Linked DNA regions of Homo sapiens: regions 1, 2, 3, 5, 6 and 7 are each linked to region 4. Evidence: promoter capture Hi-C in 16 types of primary human blood cells and fetal thymus (Javierre and others, 2016). All regions are on one chromosome and are shown on one strand. The core of a region is centred on a gene start or on the middle of the fragment in contact, and the rest is flanking DNA. Distances in the headings are between cores, read along the strand shown. Region 1 overlaps INPP4A (inositol polyphosphate-4-phosphatase type I A). Region 2 overlaps INPP4A (inositol polyphosphate-4-phosphatase type I A). Region 3 overlaps INPP4A (inositol polyphosphate-4-phosphatase type I A). Region 4 holds the start of ZAP70 (zeta chain of T cell receptor associated protein kinase 70). Region 5 overlaps INPP4A (inositol polyphosphate-4-phosphatase type I A). Region 6 has its middle 24 kb from the start of INPP4A. Region 7 has its middle 41 kb from the start of INPP4A.

Region 1 (3,390 bases), core at 348-2,847, 820 kb after region 4:
AGAAAACTAATCAGAGTCTGGTTTTAAAGGATTCATTTCTTTCCCGTGTTGATTCTGTAGCTTGCAGTGAGCTGCATACTCCATCGCTAGATCGAAAGCCAAATAGTTTTGTTGCGGTGAGTGTCACCACCCCTCCTCAGGCATTCTGGACGAAGCATGCACAGACGGAGATCATTGAGGTGGGTGCTGGTGGTCTCTCTCTGAGGGGCTGTGGGACATGCTCTAGTGGTGTCTCTTGTCCTGATGTTCAGTTACTTGTGCATCTGTAGCTGAAGCTGTATTTACGTGAGTTGTTGCTATTTTCCCATGGGTTTTCAGTACATTGATATTTTTCATCACATTTACTCATCTGGGTGGCATTTATATTGCCATATCCTTTACAGTTATTGATTAACTGTTGGCAGCTTGTTTTTGAACAATGATCCTGTAAGCTTCATTGCCTTGTAAGAGGTAAGACCTAATTCCTTCTTGTCACCTCCAATTGGCTGCTACTTTGCAAGAGTGGTGCTCATTAATCAAAGCTTAGAAGAGTATTAACTATTTACCACCCTCTTGTCCAGACATACCCCTATTTTTGTTGGTTTTTGTTTTTACAGCCTTTTGAGTTTTGTGTCACATGTTAACTTTTCCCACTAAGTTACATGATAAACATTTGTGGATAAACATTTATGGATGATCCTTTTAGATCATCAAGCACATTACATAACACTAAGTGTAGGAGTTGGTGGCATGAGATTCTGCAGAGTTTTATTTGTAAAGTGAAGAATTATCAAACTTAAACTGCATTTCTTCTTCTTCACCAGTTGTGCATTTTGGAAGCTAGCCCACCCTTTCAGTCTCTTAGAAACTTATTTCCAAGTTCACGTCAACAATTCTGCTTTCTAAGCAGTTGTCGAGTGCTACCTACACATCTAGCATAGTGCCAGGCACTGTGGATGATACAGAGCCCACCAGGGCACAGTCCCTGCCCTGAGGAATTGACCAGCTGGTGGGTGGGGAGGCAGAAATGAATATGGCTACCCGTGTGCACAGCAGAGTATGGGAAGTATTGGAGTAGGAAGGTAAGGAGAGCACCAGGAGGCTGGGATCCTATCTGGCTGTGAGAGTCAGAGCAGGCTTCCTAGGGTGGGGCTTCATGAAATTCTACTTCAGTATGTCTGGGGTAGGGCCCAAGACTGCATTTCTTACAAGCTCCCAAGTGATGCCCAGGTAGCCAGTCGGGGGACTCCACATGAAGAGCACGCCAAAGTTCTGTTGTGGCTATGCAAATGTGTGACCACAGGGAAGGATCATGCAGGTTTGGGGTCTAACTGTATCCTGGTCAGTGTGTGAAAGGCACAAGTAGGAGAGCAAGGAAAGAAAGCCTTGAAGGCCGTGGAGTTTATCAGCAGATGGTAGTGAGCCAGTGTAGGCTTCTGTGCAGGGGAGTCACCTGACCAGATGTCCTAACTTGTATAGGACAGGCATTTGGGGGAGTGAGAGTTGGAGGGAGTGGAAAGAAAGGAGCGTATGACAGAGACTTTGAAGGTGGACCTTGCAAGGGGAGTTCATGATCACTGGATGGTTGAGAACAACAGAGAAGAAGGCACCAAAGTGAATGCCCGGGCTTTTAGCCTGCTTGGAAAGGGAGTCAGAGGTGGCCTTAGCCAAGGGCAGGTGGAGGGAGAGATGAGTTGGTTGAGGCCCCAGCAGCCCACCCAGGTGGAGCTGTCCAGTCAGCTTGACCACCTGGATCTGGATCTCCAGAGAGAAAAAGGAGCCAGAGGCCCAGGGAATGGTGGCTGTGATAATTACCTGGTGCCTGAGAGAGTATGGTATTACGGGGCTTTGGAGGACATGGCCAGGCTGCCAGGAAATAGTCACCTATGATCAAAAAACTAGTAGCTGATCCTAAAAAAAGGATAGCTTTTGAAAAGTCAGGCTTTAATTATTCCAAACACAGGCTTCTAGAAATACATAATAAACCACTTAAGCCATTCATTTTCTCTCTTTCATCTGCTTATTTGTACCTCTTAAAGGAATAACTCAAAGTAGTAGGTTTACATACACATTACACTTTAAGTTATAAAACTAAGAATGCATGTGGACATCCAACTTGTTTCAGTTTTTAAAAATTCCTCCTGTTGAGTGTGAAACCCATGAAATGAGTCCTCAGGCACAGCTTGTGTAATGGGCTGATTTATTGTATGTGGATCTGTAATGGTCTATGTCAGACTTCTTTTTTCTCTTTTAAAAAGCAGAGTTTTTTTGTTTGTTTGTTTTATGTATTTATTTAAGCCGCCTTTAGCATTTGTGTTGATTCAAGGCAGTGAGAATGTTAGTTTCTCATTCTGAAAATGTTGGTGTATTTCAAAAGCAATTACATTTTAAAAATCCAACCCTGTGTTCTGATTATTTCCTTTTCTGTTCTAGGGAACCAACAATCCTATATTTCTAAGCAGTATTGCCTTCTTTCAAGACTCTCTTATCAATCAGATGACACAAGTCAAACTCTCCGTGTATGATGTCAAAGATAGATCTCAGGGAACAGTTAAGTAATGTGTTGTAGTTCGTGGGATTTTCTTCCCTTTGAAAAAATTATATAATCGTTTGAATGAGAGATGAACACAGATTGACTTCACTACTGGCTCACAAGTTAACTCATGTCTAAATGCATTTGTCTTTGCGAATTGTTAAGCTTTCCCATTGGGCTTCTGACATAAGGGTAAGAGGTGTTGTGGGAAGCAGTCAGCTGGACTCTCTGGGGCCATGGTAATTGCATCAGAAGCAAAGCAAGCGCACCAATGCTGCCTCTCTTCCTTCTCTTCCTCAGATGTATTTACTGGGCTCTGGAACGTTCATTGTCAAAGATCTGCTCCAGGACAGGCATCATAGGTTGCATTTAACACTAAGGTTGGTATTCAGTTTTATTCCCTTGAAAGGATCTGGAATCATGAGGTCCAGGGACAGATGGGGAAAGGACCCACTTCTTATACTGAGAGAGCACCCTTCCCTTCCCAGAAGCCAGTCAGCGTGGGGACACTGTGTTGTCTATTGAGGCGAAACAAATTACTTAGCCTATCAGAGAATGGAAACTTTTAGCATCCATAGGAGATATGAGCACAGCTGTACCAAGCCCTAAAGGAAGGCCTAGATACATATCTAGTAATACTAAGTGTGTTTCTCCATTATTTAGCCCCTCCCCAGTGGAATATAATCTCCCATAGAGCAGGGAGTTTTGTCTGCTTTGCTTCACTGCTATTTCCCAGACACCTAGAATGTGTCTGGTGCTCAATAAATATTTATGGAAGGAATGAGTGAATGAAAGGGAAACGCCCACTGTCTCCCAGGATGGAAAGATGAAAGACATCAGGATGTCAGTCCTTCCAAATCATTTTAGGGGCACTTCCC
Region 2 (3,313 bases), core at 300-2,799, 880 kb after region 4:
ATTGTTACTTTCTTATTCTCATTCTTATGTAAGATGACTATTGAGAAACAGTTGAAATTTATTCTCCTCAAATGAGATTTTGAAAGGGATTTATGGGCCATAAAACTTAGGAATTTCATAGAAAATTTTGTCTGGTCATCTTTTATAAGATGATGATGAGTCTTATCTGCACATAGCAGAGTTTGTTTCTTAGGAGTTTATATGTTTTATTGATTCTGTTTACGATGTTTACATGTTCTTGAAAAGGTTGTAAAAGAAATACATATGGCACATATTAATGATGCTGATCCTAATGATTTGTGAACCTCTTAGAAATTCTTTTGTCTAAAAGCCTAGAGATTCTTCTGGTTCCTTTAGAAACATGTAACAAACTTGGGCCAGGGGTGCTGAGGCATGGGGAGGACTGCTTATTGGCAGGAACACAGAGGGGGTGGGCATCAGGTAGGGTGGAACTGGATGACCTTCCAGACCCCCTCCTACTCAGAAGTCAGCATGCAAGCAGCGCCTGCTGTCTCCCGATGCCTGCAGGGAGGAAAATGTCTGTGAAGGACACTTTAATGAAGGACGAAGCTCTCTGCTGCTCCCTCAAAGCTGAGTTCACTGTGGCAGGCAGGAAGCAGAGAAGCTCCTGCCCGCCAAACCCACTGCACAGGTGGCTGCTGCTGGTATCAGATTCTCCTTTTTAAGTGTCAATTTCTGTTCACAGACAGTTTGTTTTCAATATGGCTGATTTACCCTTTCACCTCTCCACCATCTCATTTAATTTGTAAATTTTTAGTTCTGTCTTTTCTCATTTTAACTTTTAAAAAATCTCCTTGCTTTTTAAAAATAAATATTACCCACATAGTTTTCAGATCTTTTTTGTCTGGAGAGCATTAAATATCTGCACTCATCAAAGGGAATATAGCAAATGTTGATCATCTGTCAGCAGTTTTGCATGTGACACCTTTATATGAATTATTTTCCCAATTTTTGCTCTATGTAATGGGTCACCATAAAACTGTAAGACTTGGCAAATGCTATAGAAAAGGTTCAGGTTTCAGTATTCTCTCTGAAGGCATCATTCCTGGGCTTCCGGCAGCATCACACGCTTCCAGTGCCTGCAGGGTGAGGGTGTGTGGCACAGAGGCAAGCAGCTCCTCTCTTCTGTAGGAGCTTTGGGTTTTCAGAGGTGCAGGGAAGGCAGTTTTACAGGTTACCGTAAAACAGAGGTTCCGTCCAGTGTTCCTTATGATGCCTCCCCATTTAAAAAGAAAAGAGATCTATGGAAAACTGGGAATGTAATGTGGATTCTGTCAGAGCTCCTACAGAGCACAGTTGCCTTTAGTTTCCTTTAAAGATGTAAAAATATTGTATAATACAGTTTTGTCCCTACACAATTGTATTTGCCAAGCTTAGTGCATTATGATACCTTTATTTATTTGTTTTGGGCAGTATTACTATATATATATAAACATACAGTTACTGTTTTATATATTCTTAGGTCATTCAAAGCCATGTATGCTGTAAATGTGCTAGTCTTTAGAATGACACATAATAAATAACTGACAAGATATTAAATGTGGTCTTGCCTGATTCATCCTATTAGGAGGACTAGTTCTATGTGACCAGCCTGTGACTGGACCATTGTTCTTGGGCATTGCATTGAGTGCTCGGGTGCTGAATACATGTTTGTAAACATGGGACCATGGGAGACTTCCATTTTATAAGCTTGTTTCTGCCTAATTTGAAGCAGAGGGGCAACAGCGTTGAGGTTAAGAGCACGGACTTTGGGAGCACACAGACCAGGTCCCAATCCTGGTTCTGCCCCTGACTGGCTGGTGACTCTGAGCAAGTTGCTTGACCTCTCCAAGCCTCCGTTTCCTCATGTGCAAAGTGTGGACAACAACAGTACCTTCCTCATAAGGAACGTGCGACGCGCCTCAGAAGTACGTGTTCATAAATGGTAGCCATTGTTGTTACCTTCCCGTCTGTGAACATGGATCACATCATCTCTGTGGGTAACCCAGTCCTCGTTGTATGACTTGTCAAAATGCAGTTCCACTTGTATTAATATTGACCCTGTTCATCGTCACCAGGACTGCATCTTGCACCACTGTGCCGTCTTCTAGGCACACACGACCCGTTATCTCCCTTGGAAAAATTCCTCTCACTGGAAATGTACAATTAAAGGATGATTGAAATGTTTAACTCTTGGAGTTTTTAGTATTACCAAACTCCTAGAAATTTAAGCTACCACCAAAAATAACATGTGCCTTTTCCCTTTATTCTCATTGATGGTAGCAGTGCACCTCGTTTCAGTGTCCTGATTCCTTGATTACTGTGAACACTGAACATCTTTTATACCTTTATGATATTTCTATGTTTGTGACTTCATTGGAATGTTGATCTATTTCATATAGATTGTTTTTAATATACAATGTATTAGCCCCTGTCATATGTTGCACACTTTTTAACCTATTTGTCAGCTGTCTTTTGGTCTGTGGTAGGAGTTATACAGTATTTTAAATGGTTTATGTAGTCACATATACCTGTCTTTCATTTTGATGCTTGTTCTGAAATGGAGTCCTGGCTTCACCATGGAAGGTGGGACATATGGGACAGCCATGTCCTTGTGGGCATGGTGGTGTGGCTGCGTGCCCACGACGAGGGGCTGGACTAAAGTGCTCACTGGCACCTTGCTTGGTGCATGGGCCATGCTCAGTTTAATATTATTAACAGTTTCTACCTTCACTCTCATGTCTCAGGATTATTTTTTCAGCATTTACCTGTTCTTATTTCTAGGATGTTTATGGTTTCAGTCCTACATTTAGATCAATCCATCTGGAATCATCTTGGTGTAAGTCCTGTGTTGTGCTTACAGTATGTAAAGTCAGAGGGAATCCCTCAAGGTCAGGCCTAATTTTGCTTCTCTTTAAAGTTAAGCCAAGAAGAAGACATGTCAGGACGCCCAGACATCAGCTACCGTGAGCTTCTTCCTGCCCTCCCTCCGCATGCCATTCTGGTGCTGCGCTTCAGTTTCCTGTTGAGTCTCTGCTTAGTAGATGACTTGGCACAATCTGGCTGCCCAGATCTAGGGGAGTTGTCCCAGGGAGGCTTTGCGCTGGAGGAAGGTAAGAGGAGCTGGAGGTTGGAGCTTCCCGATTTGTGATTTTTCCAAGAACAGAAATGATTAGCCATGTGGGGAGGTTACTTCATTGTACATTGTTCTACTGCATAACCTCCCTCTATTCTTTACCAGCATCACACAGCAGGTTGGCACCATTTTTGAATAGAGGTTTCTCACAGTATCCTCAGCAGCATTGAGTGTTCC
Region 3 (3,221 bases), core at 552-3,051, 790 kb after region 4:
TGAGGGCCTTTGTTCTCAATGTATTCTCTCCCTCTCATAACTCAGATGTAAAATTTGGAGAAAGAGATAATGGTGAAAGTACCTCAACATTGTCTTATTTTCACATTGATATTCCTACTCGTTAGCATTTTCCATGGAAACAGCACCACAACCAGATTAGGAATCTTTCTGGAACAAAGGGAAAATAGTTCTTGTGACTTTTGTGAGCAGTCTCACTACTGCATTGTTTATGGGTGAGGTCACCAAGGAGACCTAGCTCAAAGGCAAAAGATGGCCCTGCTCTAAGGGTTTTATTAATAGACCTGAAATTGCTTGCCCTCTTGAATTACCCAAGTGGTTTTAGTTTCTTTTGTTGTTTTTGAGTTATTGGATTTTATTTTATATTTGCAGAATCAGTGCTTCCTTCAGAGATAGGGAGTTTGGACGGACTAGGTTTAGTTGTGCTGATGACAAATGGACCTTTAGAACCCCTGGAGACCTCCTGGGACAAACGAGTTGCCCTTTATGTGTTGGTCGTGAATGTTGCCTGTTCATGTGGTGGTGGGTGCCATCTTGACCCAGCTTTGCCAGGTCTGAGCAGGGGTCTGTCTTTGCTGGTGAGAAGGGATGCTCATTGCAATTCTTGTGGGCAGGTTCCTCCCTGGTTTGCCCCAAGTGAGAAAGAGATTTGTCTTCAAAAGCCCAGTAGGAGAGTCCAAGAGAGTACCAGGACTTTTGAGATTGGTTTGAACAATTGAGATCCTAGGGAGTTCTTCACTGCCTGCAAGCTAAAACCCAGCTCTGTGGTCTGGTGTTAAAGGATCTCCAGAATTGACCTCGTCCTGGCTCTCCAGCCCCATTCTCTGTCCTTGATACACAAGACTTTCCTGTTTCCTGAGTGAGTGCTTGTTGCTGGATGCACCTGTGCCTGTTCCTTTTGAAGTCAGATCAACTCGCACCTCATCTGGATCATCTTTTGCCAGATTTCAAGCTTCTTCCTTGCCTCTGTAGCAGCATGGGGCATGCATCTCATTTTGTCTTGGAGTTGTGTTATCTGAATGTTTTACTCCATCATTAAACTGTTGGATTCTTGCAGGCAGAGATCACTTCTGATTCACTTGTGTGTTCACTGTAAGTGCCTAGCTCAGTACTTGTTGAACAGATGAATGGACAGTTCCAGATTACAGACTCCTTTGGACACTCTCATCAGAAGGCATTTCAGGTCATCAAACCAGGCTTGCGTGACAGGATGACAGAGACTCCTTCTCCTGCAGGCAGGGCTCCTGTCTTCTGCCCTGGTCCCTTCCCTATTAGCCTGATCTTTGCTGCTGGTTGAGAAGAGGTGCCACATGAGAAGAAGGCAGATGTTGCTGTTGAGCATGAAGGTGCTGCGTGTCAGTTGGCACTTGTCCCTACATGGTTGAACTTACTCAACCACAGCTCTGGTGGGTAGCTACAGAGCACTGCCCAAGGAAGGGCATGGGCCTCAGAGGCACAGCTTATTGCACTCTTTTAAAAACTGCATTTCTTTTTGAGGTTTCATTATTCCAGCCACTGTCAGCTTTGCAATAAAGAGCTGTGGTCAGTTCACTGTGGAAGAGGCCCATGGAGGACTGCCAGTGGGGGTCCTCCCTCACCAAACACGGAACGCTGAACAACCAGCAACACAGCCGAGTAGCTGAAGCCATAGAACCCTCTCTCCAGGAAGGTCCTATATAAACATCAGGACTGCTTGCTGCCCTTTTGATTTGTTTTAATGAGAATAGGGAAGACTGAAGTCCTTTTGTGTCTCTGCTAAGTGTTCACCCCAACACTGAATGTTTCAAACAGGATTCCATTTTCACAGCTAAAATAAACAGGTTATACACCACTTTGCCAGAGATCTACATGTAGTAAAGTTGCTGAATGTGTGACCACTTTGTGTTTCCATGGGACCTAGAGGACCAAGATGTCTCTCCCTGATTTCAGTTTGTTGTTGAGGAAGCTAGAAACAGCATTGTAACGTTGGTGCTGCCACTTGGAGGCCTTGGGCAGGTCATCCCCAGTCTCCTGGCTTACTGCCTGGTTTCTAAAATAGCATTGTCTTCCCGGCATTTCATTGATCTGTGATGGTTGCTTCACATTTATAGCCCTTTATGGAATTTTGTTGCTACTCAGAAAATTTTTTATTTTCTCGTGAAGCCAATTTTGACACTTGCGAATTAGAAGGCAGGCTTTCCTAGTGCTTAGAAAAATAAACAGAGCCTGCCTGACTCCACTTGTCTGAAGCACGTTATTATTAACTTTCAACTTATTATCAGTTCTGCTCTTAACGTGGCGCTGTAGAAGGAAATGATGTGTGTGGTGTTAATCTTCAGTGCCTCTTCAGGCCCACGTGCCATCCTGCTGAAGGTGCAGGACTGGCAATGGCAAGGGGGATCTACAGCTTTGGCTGGCCTTGACATTCTGCATCATGTGATTGAGCAAGCCTGAGACCATCTTACCAGATTCACTCTAGGCTCTCTGTCTTTTCTTTGTTTTCCCAAAGCTCTGTTAGCATGGACTTTTGAAAGTTGCCTGAATATTAAAGTACTATACTAATAACTTGCTTTCTAGTAAACAAAACCAAAAGTTGGCTTAATGGTTGCTCACTGACCTGGCATAAACTAGAACACAAAGCTTCCCATTTAGAAAAGGTTCAGGCAGCCTCCTGCTGGGATCTGCCCAACCCCTCTAGGAGGTGGCATGGATGCCCACCTCTTCTTCCAAGGGTGCACTTTGCCTTTAGGTTTGGGGAAAAGTACTGGGCGAGCCTTTGGGACTGTTGTGTCTCATGAGTGGGCTGACCTTGGTGGAGGCTTGCGTTTCCCATGTGGGGCCTGACTTTTTATGTGTCCAGCCAGAGTGATGAGCTCGTTCACTTTCCCTGCAGTGCTTCCTTGTTGAACCTGAAAGAGAGGACGTGGGAGCTTTTGTAGGAGAGAGAGGACACATGCTTTATTCTTGAACTGTGAGGTGTATGTCACCAGAGAGAATTGGAGACAGCGGTGACTGTTTCTCAAAACAGCTTGCACACTCTTCCCTTACCAAATTAGGATTGAGTAAAACCTGTTGGTAATAGTAAATAGAAGGAAGTTACAAATAAAACACAGTAGTCATAAAAGCAGAGCAGAGGAGCCCTGCTCACAGAGCCAGCCGTCACCACAGACGCCTGGGCTTGAGTTGTGTCTTGCTGATTCAGCAGGAGGGTGCATTTCCCCTTC
Region 4 (3,307 bases), core at 276-2,775:
CAGCCCCAAAGAAGGGGCTTGATTTTCTTTTATACTTTGGTTTAGAAAGGACAGGTGGGGGTCTAAAACAATCTTACAGAAGTAAAGCAGGCAAAAAGTTAAAAGGATAAATGGTTACGGGAAAGCAAACAGTTCCAGGTGCAGGGGCTTAAAATCTATCACAAGGTGATAGACACGGGGCTTTGGGCGTTATCAACCGGACACAAACGCCGGGGCTCTGGGTGCTATTAACCGGGCGAATTCCTGGGAACTGCGGATATAGCTTGCCACAGTATCTTATCAGTTAATTGCATTCTTGGATGTGCTGGGAGTCAGCTTGCACAAATTAAGTCCTTGAGGAAGCGGGGTGGGTAAGGGGCTGCAAATGAAAGAGCCAAGATGGAGTCTGTCTGGCTCTCTTAGCTAAGGGAGAGTCAATTCAGGTTAAAACAAGGTAGGGTATCACAAGCCCACTTAACAAGGGCAGCAGGACCCCAAGAAGAAAAGCTTTAGGAGTCTCCACAGTGGGCCCAGGGCAGTTCCACACAGGTCTCTGAGGCCCCACAGACAGGAGAGCTGTGACGACTCCCTTAGTGCCCAAGAAAGCAAGGAGGTGGTGGGCAAGGGGCTCCCAGAGGCCTTGGGGCACTAGAGGGGAGATGGAGCCGAGGGAGTGGCTCTGCAGGCCCCTCTCTGAGAGAGTGCATGAGGTGTGGCCCCAGGCCCAAGGGTAGGGGGTGCACAGGGTGAGGGAAGGGAGGAGAGGAAGAGGAGGAGGAGGTGGTGGCCACAGCGGGATGGCACTCAGCCAGGTTCAGCTTCGTGGGAAAGGTCCCAGGTGGGCCGGGCTAGCACTGGGGATGCCCTGGCTCTGTGTCTCGGTTGGGTGGCTGACTCCTCCTGGAACGCATCCCTGACATCCTCCAGGCTGGCTTGGGGATACTCTGGGGACACACAGTGCCCAGGCTTCCGGCCTCCCAGCCCTGGCTCCCTGTGGACTCAGCTGCCCCCAACAAGCCTGCGAGCCACTGGAGAGCAAGGGCAGGCTGTCCTTGCCATCCAGATGCCTGGCACAGAAGGGGTTCTCACCTTCGGGGTATGGGCTGACTCAGTGGGTTTCTCCTCCCTCCAGCTCTAACCTGCCTGTGGAATAAACAAATCACTCCTCTGGGTTGTCTAGCTGGTGCAGGCCCCAGGGCGACGCCCCTTTGAGGGGAAAATGGGGGCATTCCAGTTTCCATGAGCCCTGGGACTCCCCTCCTTCCCACCACTGCTGCCTACCCTCCGGTTCCAGGTATGCAGGCTTCCTCCCTTCTGACGGTTCCTGCTGCTGGAGTCGTCCTTCCTGAAACCCTGCCTTTGCTTAGCCTCATTCCCATCTCTCAGTCCCATCCTGCAGCTGGGCAGGCAGTGCTGGGCCCCGGAAATGCCCTCTGCCTCCCTGGAGCACGTGGCCTGTGATTTTCCTTGAGCACAGCACTTTGTGACTTTGATGTAAACATCAAACACAGCCCCCTTTCCTGTCTTCGCATCCAGGAAATAGGTTAGTTTCAGACAAGCCTGCTTGCCGGAGCTCAGCAGACACCAGGCCTTCCGGGCAGGCCTGGCCCACCGTGGGCCTCAGAGCTGCTGCTGGGGCATTCAGGTAAGCGGCTGTCCTCGGGCCTTCTGCCTGTGTCCTGCCACCAGGGCCACCCCAGGGGGCTCTGGGAGACCTGGCAGAGGATGAACCCCCCCCATCCATGAGTGAGAAACCCTGGCGGGGTGTGACATCCTCCCCCGGGGTGTGTGCGGAGAGTGTGAGCGGCAGGGCCTCCCTCTCAGGCTGGGGGCTTGGGCTGCAGGGAAATCCAAACCGGCTTTGTAAGCCCCGATTCCTCACCCAGAACCGGCTCTCCATTGGCATTGGGACCAGAGACCCCGCAAGTGGCCTGTTTGCCTGGACATCCACCTGTACGTCCCCAGGTAAGTGGTGCCTGGGTGGAGTGGCACCTGGCCACCGTCTCCATGGTGGGCTGTGTCTGGAGGAGGAAGACAGAATATTAACTGGGAGTCAGGAGGTTGCTGGGAGGACCAGGAGAGCTGGAGGACTGGGCTGGGTGGTGACTGGCTGGAGATGGAGGCAGACGGGGCTTGTGGCCACGCTGAGGGAAGCAGCTCCCCCTCCAGAGGCTTGGCCGAGCGGGGCTGTTCAGGGGACACGGTGAGGCCTGCTCAGTCCCTGGGCTCCTGCTGGGCCCTGTTTGGCTGCATCCTTGGCTCTCGGAGGCAGAGAAACCTCCAGAGAAAGCGCATGTGCACTCTGTGAAGATGAGGGGGCTGCTCACCAGGGCCGTGAGCTCCATCAGCAGAATGCTGTGATTCCTGTGAGGAGTCCAGGGCAGGCTTGAGCCACTTGTAGGCGAGCTCAGGTTAGAGGAAGACCTGGAGAGAGAAAGAGCAAAACACCGAGTTCTCCTCAACTGCTGTGTGTTCTCGGCAAGTTGCTTGGCCTCTCTGACCTCAGTTTGTGCATCTGTTAAATGCACATGCAGATATGGGCACCTGGCAGGCGCCTGGTTCCTGACTGTTGGCGAGAGGCTGGGAAATGTGTCCCAGGTAGGAAGCATCCCCGACAGGAAGGAACAGGAGTTCATGAGGTGAGCAGCTCGAGATGATTCATTACTCTCGTCTTGGTTGGAACAGTAGGCAGACAGGAGGTGTTTAATAATGCCTTGCTGAGAGATCAGGGTCAGGGACTCCTAAGGTGCCACCTGTGAAGCTGCCTCCTGCTGAATCCAGAGCTTCCTTTTCCTCTTCACACCTGCCCTCCATCCTCAGCCCCACTGCCCTGGCAGTGTTGCGGGGGTGGTGTTGATGTGCACACTCTGGAGCCTGGGGGCCTGGCTTCACATTCTGGCTCTGCCACTCACCAGCTGTGTGACTGGACCAGTCACCGCATCTCTCTGTGCTTCCCTCCCAGGGCTCTCGGGAGGATAAAGAGAGTGACTGTATCCACACTGCCCGGCACATACAGGTGCTGCAGAAAGGTCTCACTAAAACCCTCATTATCCTCACTAGCTCTGGGTGGCCTCGGGCTCTGGACTCCACAGTTCCTGTATGCTCTCCGGGGCTGCAGCACCCAGACCACCCCGTGCTGACCACTCCCTGCCCCACCCCAAGGTACAGGGTTAAGGCAGCCATTCTCATCAGAGCCAATTTTACCTCCTCCCGTCTCCCTGGGACAGTTGATAGTGCCTGGAGACAGTTTGGGTTGTGACCCAGCGGGTGTTACTGGCATCCAGCATGTCCAGGACAGGAATCCTGTGAACAGCCTACAAGGCCCAGG
Region 5 (3,612 bases), core at 1-2,500, 850 kb after region 4:
CGAGAGCCTGCTGAGCACCTACGGTGAGGCGCCCGGGCCAGGATCGGGAGCCCCACTTGCGTGTGTGGTTTCCATCCTTTCTTGCTAGGCACTTTTCTCACTATACCAGTAATGCGTGCTTATTGAAATAAATCCAAAATATATAACAGCAGACCAGATGGCAGACCTGGCAGTTACACACGCACACGCCTTGGTTTGTTGTTGTTGCTGGTTGAGGATGGATGCTAATTACTTAACCAGTAACTTCCTGTTGGACTTTGGGTTGTTCCTGAAACACCAGTGCAGCAGTGACATCTGTGCATGAGGCACTTGTGGGCCTGTTTCTGCAGCTACTGAATGACTGGAAGGAGAGTTGCTGGGTCAGAGGGTAGGAATATTTTTAAATTTAATAGATATTTCCAAATTGCCCTCTAAAAAGGCTCTCTTCTTCCTACCCTTGTTTATTATTTATTTATTCTGAGAAGGTGATAGAAAGCATTTGTTAATCATTGGAAATTGAGGACATCGAATAGATATCAAGCCCTGTGTAATGGGAGGGTCTGGCCACAGCAAAGCTGCTTTAGCATCTCTCATTTCGTGTTTCAAGAGCTGGCTTTGCTTTCTGAGTTTATGTATTTGTTTCCCTCCCTACTATCTGGTGCTTGCCCAAGAAATAGTGGGAAGGGATGGCGCGTGTTTCCACCAGATGCATGTTTTGATGTGGCTGTGGGATTTCAGAGGCATTGTTGACTCACAGAGGAGTGAGTTGCAGGGGAAGAGGCTCAGAGACTCCCCCTCCACCAGAGCCACACCTGCACCCCTCCTGTCACAGCCAGGCCTGGGCTTGGCTGCCTTCTGCTGAGACTGGGGAGAGTAGCAGGGCCCTCTGCCTGACAGCCCTGCCCCTCTCTCATGTCCAGGGGAGGAGCTGGCAATGCTGGAGGACATGAGCCTTGGGATCATGGACTTGAGGAACGTGACCTTCAAAGTCACTCAGGCCACTTCCAGCGCCTCCGCAGACATGCTGCCCGTCATCACAGGAAATCGGTAGAGTGTTGGTTTAAAATTCTCTGAGCCAGAGAGCGGTTTTCATTTTTGTTTATCTCAGGGAAGGTACTCTTCTGAATTTTTTATCCTATTTCATTTTGTTAAATGCTCTGATTACAGCCCCCTAGGTTAGTGCCACTCCCTTAAAGGTCTGTGGTTGGCAGTTTGGCCATCACTAAGCCAGAGGGCCAGCCTGGGCACTGCAGCCTGCTCGGTGGCCCTCTGGCCTCACACTGCTCTCCCTCTCTCCACCTTTCTCCAGCGACGGGTTTAACGTGCGGGTCCCTCTGCCGGGCCCGCTGTTTGACGCCTTGCCCCGGGAGATCCAGAGTGGCATGCTGCTGCGAGTGCAGCCCGTCCTCTTCAACGTGGGCATCAATGAGCAGCAGACACTGGCCGAGAGGTGCGTGCCGGCTCCTCGGGGCTGCGGGGGTGTGGTGGCCCTGGAGATGATGCAGAAAACGTACTTACCCCTCTTCAGGCTCTAAGTGCTGGACAGACTTTGTCATCCTTCCTTCCTTTGGCCAACATTTTCATCATGGCCGTGCACCTCACTGTCTTTGGTGCTAGGGACACAGAGTGACCCAGAGGTGGTCTCTGTCCTCAGGGACTCAGCTGGTGGGAGAGAGAGAGACATGGATGCAATGATGAAGACAGATACAGGGCATTGTGGGATCCGGAGTAGGGCACCCAGCAAGGTCTAGGGGGTCTGTAAAGGCTTCTTGGAGTTGCAGGGGATGGGGCTTTGAATTGTGAATAGGAGTTGGATGATGAGGTGGAGGGGAGACATGTCAGATTAAGAAGACTGAAGAAAGGCCTGGCGAGGAGAAACAGCATGGAGTTCAGGGGCACCAGGTTCCAGGCAGGGATTGGCAGGTAAGGGTAGACAGGCTCTGTGTGCCAGGCTGAGACTCATGCCTGAACCTAAAGGCAACTGCCCTCCAGGGTCACTTGCCACACTGCAGAGGGGAGTTGTGTGTGCCTGTGTGTGCACGTGTGCCTGTGTGCGCACATGTGTGTGAGGAGATAGGGTAGATTGGGTATATGTACCCTTTACTGGCCTTCCACTAGTACATGAGAATGATTCCTGTGTTGTCATTTATCTTCATGTGATATGTGTAGAATAGTCTAAACAGAGATCTTCAAGTACTTGCTGTGAAGGAAATTTGGTTTCCAGAACAATATGCCGTGTTCCTGCTGGGCCTTCTGATGTCCAACCCCAGTGGTTGATGTCCATTGACGCCTAGGTGTAGGGTCACACCAACTTAGGAAATATGGTATCATTGCTGGGAGACACTGAAGAACTCTCAGTGGGGCAGGACACAATCAGATTTACATTTAAAGTAGGTCGTTTCGCTGGCACGTGCCGGGAGGAGATGAAGGGGACAAGTGTGAGGAGGAGGCTGCTGGGAGGAGTCCAGGCCAGAGGTGGGAACCTGGATCAGGGCCAGGGGAGTGTTGGTGTTCTGCAGAGGGGTAGGCTGGGGAACTGTTAAAGTGGTCAGTGGAAGGGTTTGGTCTTCAGTGGGGTTGGGGCTGGGGCTGAGTGGGAGGAGAGTACACCAGACAGACCCACCCACTGAGCTCATAAACTGGCAGGAGAGTCGTGTCCAGAGGCAGGTGGTGAGCTGGGTTTGGACTGAGGGCACCAGCCCAGGAAGCAAAGCCCCAAAGGTGTGAGCAGAGCTGGAGGCGCCTATGTCAGGGAGAGGCGCAGCCTCACTGGAGCCCCAGCAGGGAGGTGGCCCAGGGGAGGGAAAATGATGGTGCCTGCATCCAGTAGCTGCGGATCCCACAGACTTGCAGGAGCAGTTTCTAGAGAGGGCTGAGCCAGAGCCAGGTGCATTGAATAGAGGGGAGGGTGGAGGATGCAACACTGAGGACAGAGAGGACTTGCAAAGGGCAGGTTCTTGACTTTGTTTCTTTATTGGCCCTGAGGTCACTGGTGAGCTGGGCTTGTTTATAAGCTGAGGGAAGAGCCCTCAGAGGGGAGGCCACAGGCCCAGAGTCAGGGATGGCCCCCAAGGGAGCAGGCGTCTAGAGAAAAGGCCATTGTGGACACCAGGGGTGGATGGGCTGGGACCCGTAGGAGGGAATCCTGCCCTCTGAGGGATGCTCTCGGGCCACAGAGAAGCTGATGCTCGGAAGGCCCCTCAGCAGGGATGTGTGAGACTGCACTGGGGCCCAGGACCTGGACTTCAGAGCCTGCATTTCCTAATGATCACCTTGTGCCTTCCTTGCAGGTGGCATTTTATGGCTTTGTTTCTTAGGCATTTGGCACATGCTCCTTGTAGCACACTGAGTGTGATCAGGGTGAACCTGCACGATGACGAAAGGGCAAGGGCTTCATGTCAGTCCCGGAGGGGCTGGCAGTCAGGTGTGTTCATTCTGCACACAGAGAGTGACTTCAGATTGGAGTACAGGGCTGCATCCTCACCTCTCAGCCATACCTCACTGCCGTCCCCCCTCCTAAGTGCCTCAGATGGGAGGAGACCAGGGACTCTGAGCCAAATGGCTGTGAGGGGGGATCCTGTGCTGCACAGGATCTGTACCACATCATGTTCTGGTCATCTCTCAGGCACGCCT
Region 6 (3,203 bases), core at 173-2,672, 710 kb after region 4:
ACATATTTACTTAATTGAATTAAATTGTAGAGGAATTTGGGCTTTATGCCAGGACTCATCAGCAAGAAGAAGTGTGCTAAGGTAAAGCAATCAGCTAAACCACCAGCTCATAATCCCAGAATCACAAAAATTCACCCAGGGAGTCATTTAAAAATTCCAGTGCTTAGGACCCCGTCTTCAGAGATGCTGATTTAATTAGCCTGGGGTGAAGACTGGACAACCAACATGTTAAAAATATTTCTAAGTGATCCCAATATGCAGCCAGGTTAGGGAAACACTGAATTCAGTGAAACTGTGTCGTTGCCTTCTATGTGTCAGGCATCGAACTCTGAGCAAGGCACTGAAAGTACAGAGCTGACTGAGACCAGGTTTCTGCCCTCAGCAAACTAATAGGGGAAATAGGTCCACACGTGACTCCAAAGCAAAAAAGCGCTACAGTATACTTATGAAAACTGTTTTGGGAATACAGATGAGGAAGGAACTGATTCAGCCTGAAGGAAGTGGGAGGAAAAAAGGCCAGTGACCAAGAGTGAAGACATTTGGATTTTAAAGGATGGCTGGGGGTTGCCAGGCAGATATGTTCTGTTCTTCCAAATCTCTGTTCTTCCCCATTATTGGCCAGGTAAATAATGCTTGACCAGGACTCAGGCTCCCAAATTCTGTACTAGCTGCCTCCTGCTGCCACAGGTTTATGACAAAGATCTGTCCACAGGGAATAAGGTCAATCCAATGAATATCCTTTTTTACCAGCTGGGGATATTTGTAAGGCCATGTACACGCTGTTAGTGTGCTGTCTGAGTCAGAGTGCAGTCAGGAAAACAGCCCACATCAGATATTCGATACAGTGAAATTAATGGGGAACTAATTATTTGATAGAGTTGCTGAAAATCCAAACAAAGAATCATAAAGCAACACAGATATTAGCAAATGCAGCATGCCCAAAAGCTCAAGGGATGCAAGGAGGTGATGGGATTAATAAAACCCAGGGGTCAGAGATGTCTGACAGGAGCTGGAATCACAACAGAGACTGCAGAGAGGGAGCTGGACTGACCAAGGAGATGGAGCCATTTCCAATAACACGAGAATGACACCCAAGGGGGAGGCCAGAGGGAGACAGCTGCCTTTCCCTTCCTTCTGCTCCACAGTCTCCCATTAATGCATCCCATTGGCTAAATCCAGCCAGAAGACAGTTGACAAAGAAGCCTAGGTGATATAGTTTTCAGGAGTTGGCCTCTGAAGGGTAGGGAGTGAATCTGGGTGTTTGTAAGCTTAACTCATGTATTCTAGATATCTGGCTGAAGGCTTACACCAAAAGTGGACTGAGTAATTTCCTTGTCCCTCTCCCCTACACCTAAAACTTTATCTTGGCCCAGAGTAGAACTTATCATCTGGTGTACTGGAGACACTTGGGTCAGAATCCCCAAGCAGGGCACCTCAAGCTACAAGTGGATTTTTTCATTTACCCTAGGATGCTAGACAAATATATATGATCTGTGTGCCACGGAGTAAACACATTTCAGAAGCAATACTATAAGAACAGGCAAAGAAAGAGGGATTAGAGGAAACTCACATCTAGGAAGCTTCTCCTTGAGCAGAGTGAGCGTCAACCGCCCAAAGTGAGGAGTTCCAAGATGAGGCAGTTCCAGACTCAACCAATAGTACTAGCAAAAAGAAAAGCAATCAAAGAAGACAGCCACTATCGAAGGAGAGAAATGTGATTAAAATCCATTTTCTTCACATAATCCTGATGAAGGATGACTTAAAATAAAACCAAAAGTTTCCAAGCATCAGGTTTTGATATAAATAACAGGGCTCTGTAGAATGTTCTGTATCATAAACAATTGTTTCTTTCAGTTCCTATTGTCAGGCCTCTGAGCCCAAGCTAAGCCATTATATCCCCTGTGACCTGCACGTACACATCCAGATCTCCGGTTCCTGCCTTAACTGATGACATTCCACCACAAAAGAAGTGAAAATGGCCTGTTCCTGCCTTACCTGATGACATTGTCTTGTGAAATTCCTTCTCCTGGCTCATCCTGGCTCAAAAGCTCCCCCACTGAGTACCTTGTGACCCCCACTCTGCCTGCCAGAGAACAACCCCCCTTTGACTGTAATTTTCCTTTACCTACCCAAATCCTATAAAACGGCCCCACCCCTATCTCCCTTCGCTGTCTCTCTTTTGGGACTCAGCCCGCCTGCACCCAGGTGAAATAAACAGCCATGTTGCTCACACAAAGCCTGTATGGTGGTCTCTTCACACGGACGCGCATGAAACCTATACCCACAGAAACAAAGTGTGACACACACATGGGGAAAAAAACAGGCAATGGAAACTGCCTAGGAGAGGGCCCAGATTGAATTGAACAGACAAAGACTTTAAGTCTATCATTACAAATGTGTTCAAAGAACTAAAGCAAACCAGGCTTAAAGAAGTAAAAAAAGGATTATGACAATGTTTCATCAAGCGGACAATATCAATAAAGAGACTTTATTTTAAAAAAATTAAAATTCTGGCATTAAAAAGTACAGTAATTGACATGAAAAAAATCACTAAAAGGGCTCAACTATAGATGTGAATTGGCAGAAGAAAAGAACAGCATAATTGAAGATAGGTCAATAGAGAGTATGAAATCCAAAACAGAGAATAAAGAATGAAGAAAAAGAAACACAATCTTTAAGAAATGTGGAACACCATTAAACATATCAACATACACTTAATTGGAGTAACAGAAGGAGAGGAGAGAAAGGAGCAGAAAAATTCTACCCATCCAAGATCAACCAACTCTAAGTAGAATAAATGCAAAGAGATCCCCATGTACAAATGCATCACAGTAAAAATGCTGAAAATGAAAGACAAAAGGAAAATTTTGAAAGTGGCAAGAGAAAATGACTTGTCACATACAAAGAAACCCTAATAAGAATGACATCTGATTTCTTATAATAAATTATGGAGGACAGGAGGCTATGGGATAGCATATTCAAAGTGCCCCCCCACCAAACAGCCAAGACTCATATCCAGAAAAACTATCTTTCAAAAATAAAGGTGAAATAGCCAGATGCAGTGGCTCACATCTGTAATCCCAGCACTTTGGGAGGCTGAGGTAGGTGGATCATCTGAGGTCAGGAGTTCTAGACCAGCCTGGCCAACACAGTGAAACCCCATCTCTACAAAAAATACAAAAAATTAGCCGGACATGGTGGTG
Region 7 (3,303 bases), core at 388-2,887, 690 kb after region 4:
AGGAAGATTTGACAAGAGCTGTAACAGAACTCAGAAAAGTACTAGAAATAAAAGAACAAAAAAAATTTTAAAAACTGAATTAAAAGGAACACAAGAGCAAATAAACATAGTAAGCAATGTTTTAAGAGAAATCAAAGATGGAAAGGAAAAATGTCTTAAAAATCAAAAAAGATATTCCGAATATGACATTTGGGAAAGGACAAAATTGTGGCAAAAGTAAAAAAAAAAAATTAGTGTTTGCCAGGGGTTGGGGGAGTAGAAGCATAAACAGGTGGAGTGCAGAGAGTTTCAGGGCACTGAAAATACTCTGTATGATACTGTAGTGGTAAATACATGTTGTTATACCTTTGTGAAAACCCACAGAATGTTCAACACCAAGAGTGGACACCAATGTAAACTATGGACTTCAAGAGAAAAATTGTCAGTGTAGGTTCATCTGTCACAGCAAATGCACCTTTGATACCACTTTCAAAAATATGAAGTATGTTGCAGGTATATGGGAATTTTGCTGTGAACCTAAAACTGCTCCCAAAATGCTTTTTTTTAATCAAAAAGAAATGAAAAAGATAAAAAGAATTTGTGAGAAAAGTGATGGAGAATAAACAACAAAGATCTAGCATGTTAATAAGAATCCCAAACAAGTACCAAAGCACAGGAATAGAGCACAACACTAAAACTTATCATTTAAGAAAAGTTCCTGAAATAAAAATTAGCTTGAACTAGATATTGAAGACACATTCTGCATTCTGGGAAAATTGAGCCAGAAAACTGGCACTGAGACATATAACAGTAAAACTTATAGACTGCAAAAGAAAAGAAAAAACGTTTTTGACATTCAAGCAAAAAGACAAAGTCACTTACAAGGGGGTAATATCAGATTGCCTTCAGACTTTTATAAAATAGCACTTCATGCTAGAAGACAATGAAATAACACATGCATGATATTCAAAGACAAAAAATATGAGCCACAGATTTTATGTCCAACCAAACTGGCCTTGAGGTAGAAAGGCTGCAGATAAACAGTTATAAACATGCAAAAACTCAGGAGTATTGTTTTCATGAGCCCTTCCTGAGCAATCTACAAGAGGAGAACCTCAGAAGACCAGAAAGACCGGGAAAATATTGACATAAGGCCAAGTACTCTGCTCACTGAAAAAGCTCAGAACAATAACTCAGCAGCAATGAGTGCCCATAGCACCCAGGTTGTAGTCTCTAAATACAATTTTACATTTAAAGGAACCAAGATGAACCCAAAACATTTTGTTTTGCCAGAAAGCAAGGGAATTATCAAAGACACTGAGATTATGTCAGTAGAAAATAGAATCCAATTTGAATGCACTTCCACTGGCCAAAGATGGGAGAATTTGAGCACCACAAAGAAAAATAACTGCAATTGCATGTACTAAGTCAAATATATTTTTAATGTTCATCATTACAGCTTATTCCAAAAATTGTCAAAGGGAAAGAATCAAGCAGTTATGCTGACTTTCATATACAAAAACTAGATTTCAGAGTAACCTAAACAATTGAGGAAGGAAAGTTATTTTTCTTTCCTTCTGTGGAGTCAGGATCTCACTATGTTGCCCAGGCTGGTCTTGAACTTCTGGGATCAAGCAATACTCCCACCTCTGCCTCCCAAAGTGCTGAGATTATAGGCATGAGGCACCATTCCCAGCTGGAAACTTCTGTCTTTATAGAATAATTCCAACTAAAAAATATCTCATAGAATATTGGATCTAGGCAATCATATAAAATGGATGTCAAAACAACTAGTTGCAAAGTTGATGAGGAGGGGGCAGAGCTAGATAGCCAAATAGAAGCCTCCAGTGATTGTTGCCCCACCACACACACACACAAGAATGCAAAATTGAACAACTACCCACACACAAAATCACCTTCATAAGAACCAAAAATCAAGTAAGCAATCACAGTACTGGTTTTAACATCATATTAAGGAAAGAGACACTGAAGAGGGTAGGAAAGACAGTCTTGAGTTGCCCACACCACTCCTCCCCTATCCCTCAGCAGCAGCTGCATGGCAAGAAGAGAGAATCTGTGTGCTTGTGGTGGGGAGAGTGCAGTGATTGTGGGACTTTGCATTGGAGCTCAGTGCTGCCCTGTCATAGCAGAAAGCAACTCAGGGCAGAACCCAGCTGACACCCATGAAGGGGTTTAGACCAGCCCCAGCCAGGCAAATTGTCCATCCCAGCAGTCAGAACTTGAGTTCCAGCAAGCCCTGCCACTGTGGGCTAAAGTGCTCTGGGGTGCTAAGTAAACTTGGAAGGCAGTCTAGGCTGCATGGACTGCAATTCCTGGGCAAGTCCTGGTGCTGTGCTGGACTCGGAGCCAGTGGACTTGGAGTGCATGCAACCTAGTAAGGTATCAGCGGAGGCAGCCAAGAGAGTGCTCACATCATTCCTCCTGTAACCCCATGCAGTGCAGCTTGCAGCTCCAGGAGAGACCCTCTCTCTCTTCTTGAGGAGAGGAGACATGAGAGTAAAGAGGATTTTGTCTTGCAATGTGAATACCAGCTCAGCCATAGTAGAATAGGGCACTAGGCAGAGTCATGAGGCCCCCATTCCAAGCCCTAGTTCCCAGATGACATTCTAAATAACCCCTGGGCCAAAAGGGAACCTGCTGTCTTGAAGAGAAAGATTCAGTCCTGGCAGAATTAATCACCTGCTGACTAAGAGCCCCTGGGCCCTGAATAATAAGTAGTGGTAGCCTGGCAGTGCTCACCAAGGGCCTTGGGCAAGACTCAGAGCTGTGCTGGCTTCAAGTGTGACCCAGCACATTCCCAGCTATGATGGCTATGGAGAGAGACTCCTTCTGTTTGAGGAAAGGAGAGGGAAGAGTAAAGGGGACTTTGTCTTGCCCCTTGGGCACTAGCTCGGCCACAGGTGGGTGGAGCACCAAGTGAGCTCCTGAGTACCCAGTCGTAGCCCTTGGCTCCTGGACAGTATTTCTGGACCTCCCCTGGGCCAGAGGGAAGCCTACTGCCCTGAAGGGAGAGACTCAGGACAGACAGCATTCCCCACAGGCTGACTGAAGAGCCCTTGGGCCTTGAGTGAACATCATAGGCAGTAGGCAGGCAGTAATTGCCATGGGCCTAAGGCAGTGGTGGCCATGAGGACAGACTCCTCTACTTGAGGAAATGGGAGGGAAGAGAGGGAGGGAAGAAGGGGAAGGACTTTATCTTGTGGCTTGAGTGCCAGTTCAGCCACAGTAGAATAAAGCATCAGGTAGACTCCTAAGGTTTCTGACTCCAGGCCCTGGCTATCAGATGGCATCTCGGACCCACCT

What was found. The method cuts DNA at HindIII sites, captures the fragments that hold promoters and counts their contacts. A CHiCAGO score of 5 or more calls a contact.
Region 1: a contact is called between a fragment that was not itself captured here and the fragment with the promoter of ZAP70 in region 4, in 1 of 17 cell types (M2 macrophages). The highest score is 5.5, in M2 macrophages.
Region 2: a fragment that was not itself captured here is called in contact with the fragment with the promoter of ZAP70 in region 4 in 1 of 17 cell types (M1 macrophages); the score reaches 5.4 in M1 macrophages.
Region 3: a fragment that was not itself captured here is called in contact with the fragment with the promoter of ZAP70 in region 4 in 1 of 17 cell types (activated CD4 T cells); the score reaches 5.0 in activated CD4 T cells.
Region 5: a contact is called between a fragment that was not itself captured here and the fragment with the promoter of ZAP70 in region 4, in 1 of 17 cell types (M0 macrophages). The highest score is 5.3, in M0 macrophages.
Region 6: a fragment that was not itself captured here is called in contact with the fragment with the promoter of ZAP70 in region 4 in 1 of 17 cell types (M1 macrophages); the score reaches 5.7 in M1 macrophages.
Region 7: a fragment that was not itself captured here is called in contact with the fragment with the promoter of ZAP70 in region 4 in 8 of 17 cell types (M0 macrophages, M1 macrophages, M2 macrophages and 5 more); the score reaches 12.1 in M0 macrophages.

The regions. Positions count from the first base shown.
Region 1 is chr2:98,533,317-98,536,706 of GRCh38, forward strand. INPP4A (inositol polyphosphate-4-phosphatase type I A) reads left to right here. Exons shown (of 25, transcript NM_001134225.2): 5 at 61-179; 6 at 2,413-2,529; 7 at 2,813-2,892. Among named protein-coding and RNA genes, the nearest start is that of COA5, 74 kb to the right of the region's middle. The HindIII fragment of the contact is 2,156 bases long and covers 520-2,675 here.
Region 2 is chr2:98,588,597-98,591,909 of GRCh38, forward strand. It overlaps INPP4A (inositol polyphosphate-4-phosphatase type I A), which reads left to right. Exons shown (of 25, transcript NM_001134225.2): 25 at 1-3,313. Among named protein-coding and RNA genes, the nearest start is that of COA5, 18 kb to the right of the region's middle. The HindIII fragment of the contact is 317 bases long and covers 1,392-1,708 here.
Region 3 is chr2:98,502,545-98,505,765 of GRCh38, forward strand. All of the region lies in intron 1 of INPP4A (inositol polyphosphate-4-phosphatase type I A), which reads left to right. Among named protein-coding and RNA genes, the nearest start is that of INPP4A, 59 kb to the left of the region's middle. The HindIII fragment of the contact is 1,667 bases long and covers 969-2,635 here.
Region 4 is chr2:97,712,051-97,715,357 of GRCh38, forward strand. ZAP70 (zeta chain of T cell receptor associated protein kinase 70) reads left to right here and starts at 1,526. Exons shown (of 14, transcript NM_001079.4): 1 at 1,526-1,624; 2 at 1,866-1,944. RefSeq lists an enhancer at 1,334-2,307. The HindIII fragment of the contact is 8,251 bases long and covers 485-3,307 here.
Region 5 is chr2:98,564,741-98,568,352 of GRCh38, forward strand. It overlaps INPP4A (inositol polyphosphate-4-phosphatase type I A), which reads left to right. Exons shown (of 25, transcript NM_001134225.2): 19 at 1-23; 20 at 900-1,026; 21 at 1,289-1,429. Among named protein-coding and RNA genes, the nearest start is that of COA5, 42 kb to the right of the region's middle. The HindIII fragment of the contact is 5,676 bases long and covers 1-3,612 here.
Region 6 is chr2:98,419,745-98,422,947 of GRCh38, forward strand. No RefSeq gene overlaps it. Among named protein-coding and RNA genes, the nearest start is that of INPP4A, 24 kb to the right of the region's middle. The HindIII fragment of the contact is 312 bases long and covers 1,267-1,578 here.
Region 7 is chr2:98,401,977-98,405,279 of GRCh38, forward strand. No RefSeq gene overlaps it. Among named protein-coding and RNA genes, the nearest start is that of INPP4A, 41 kb to the right of the region's middle. The HindIII fragment of the contact is 4,305 bases long and covers 1-3,303 here.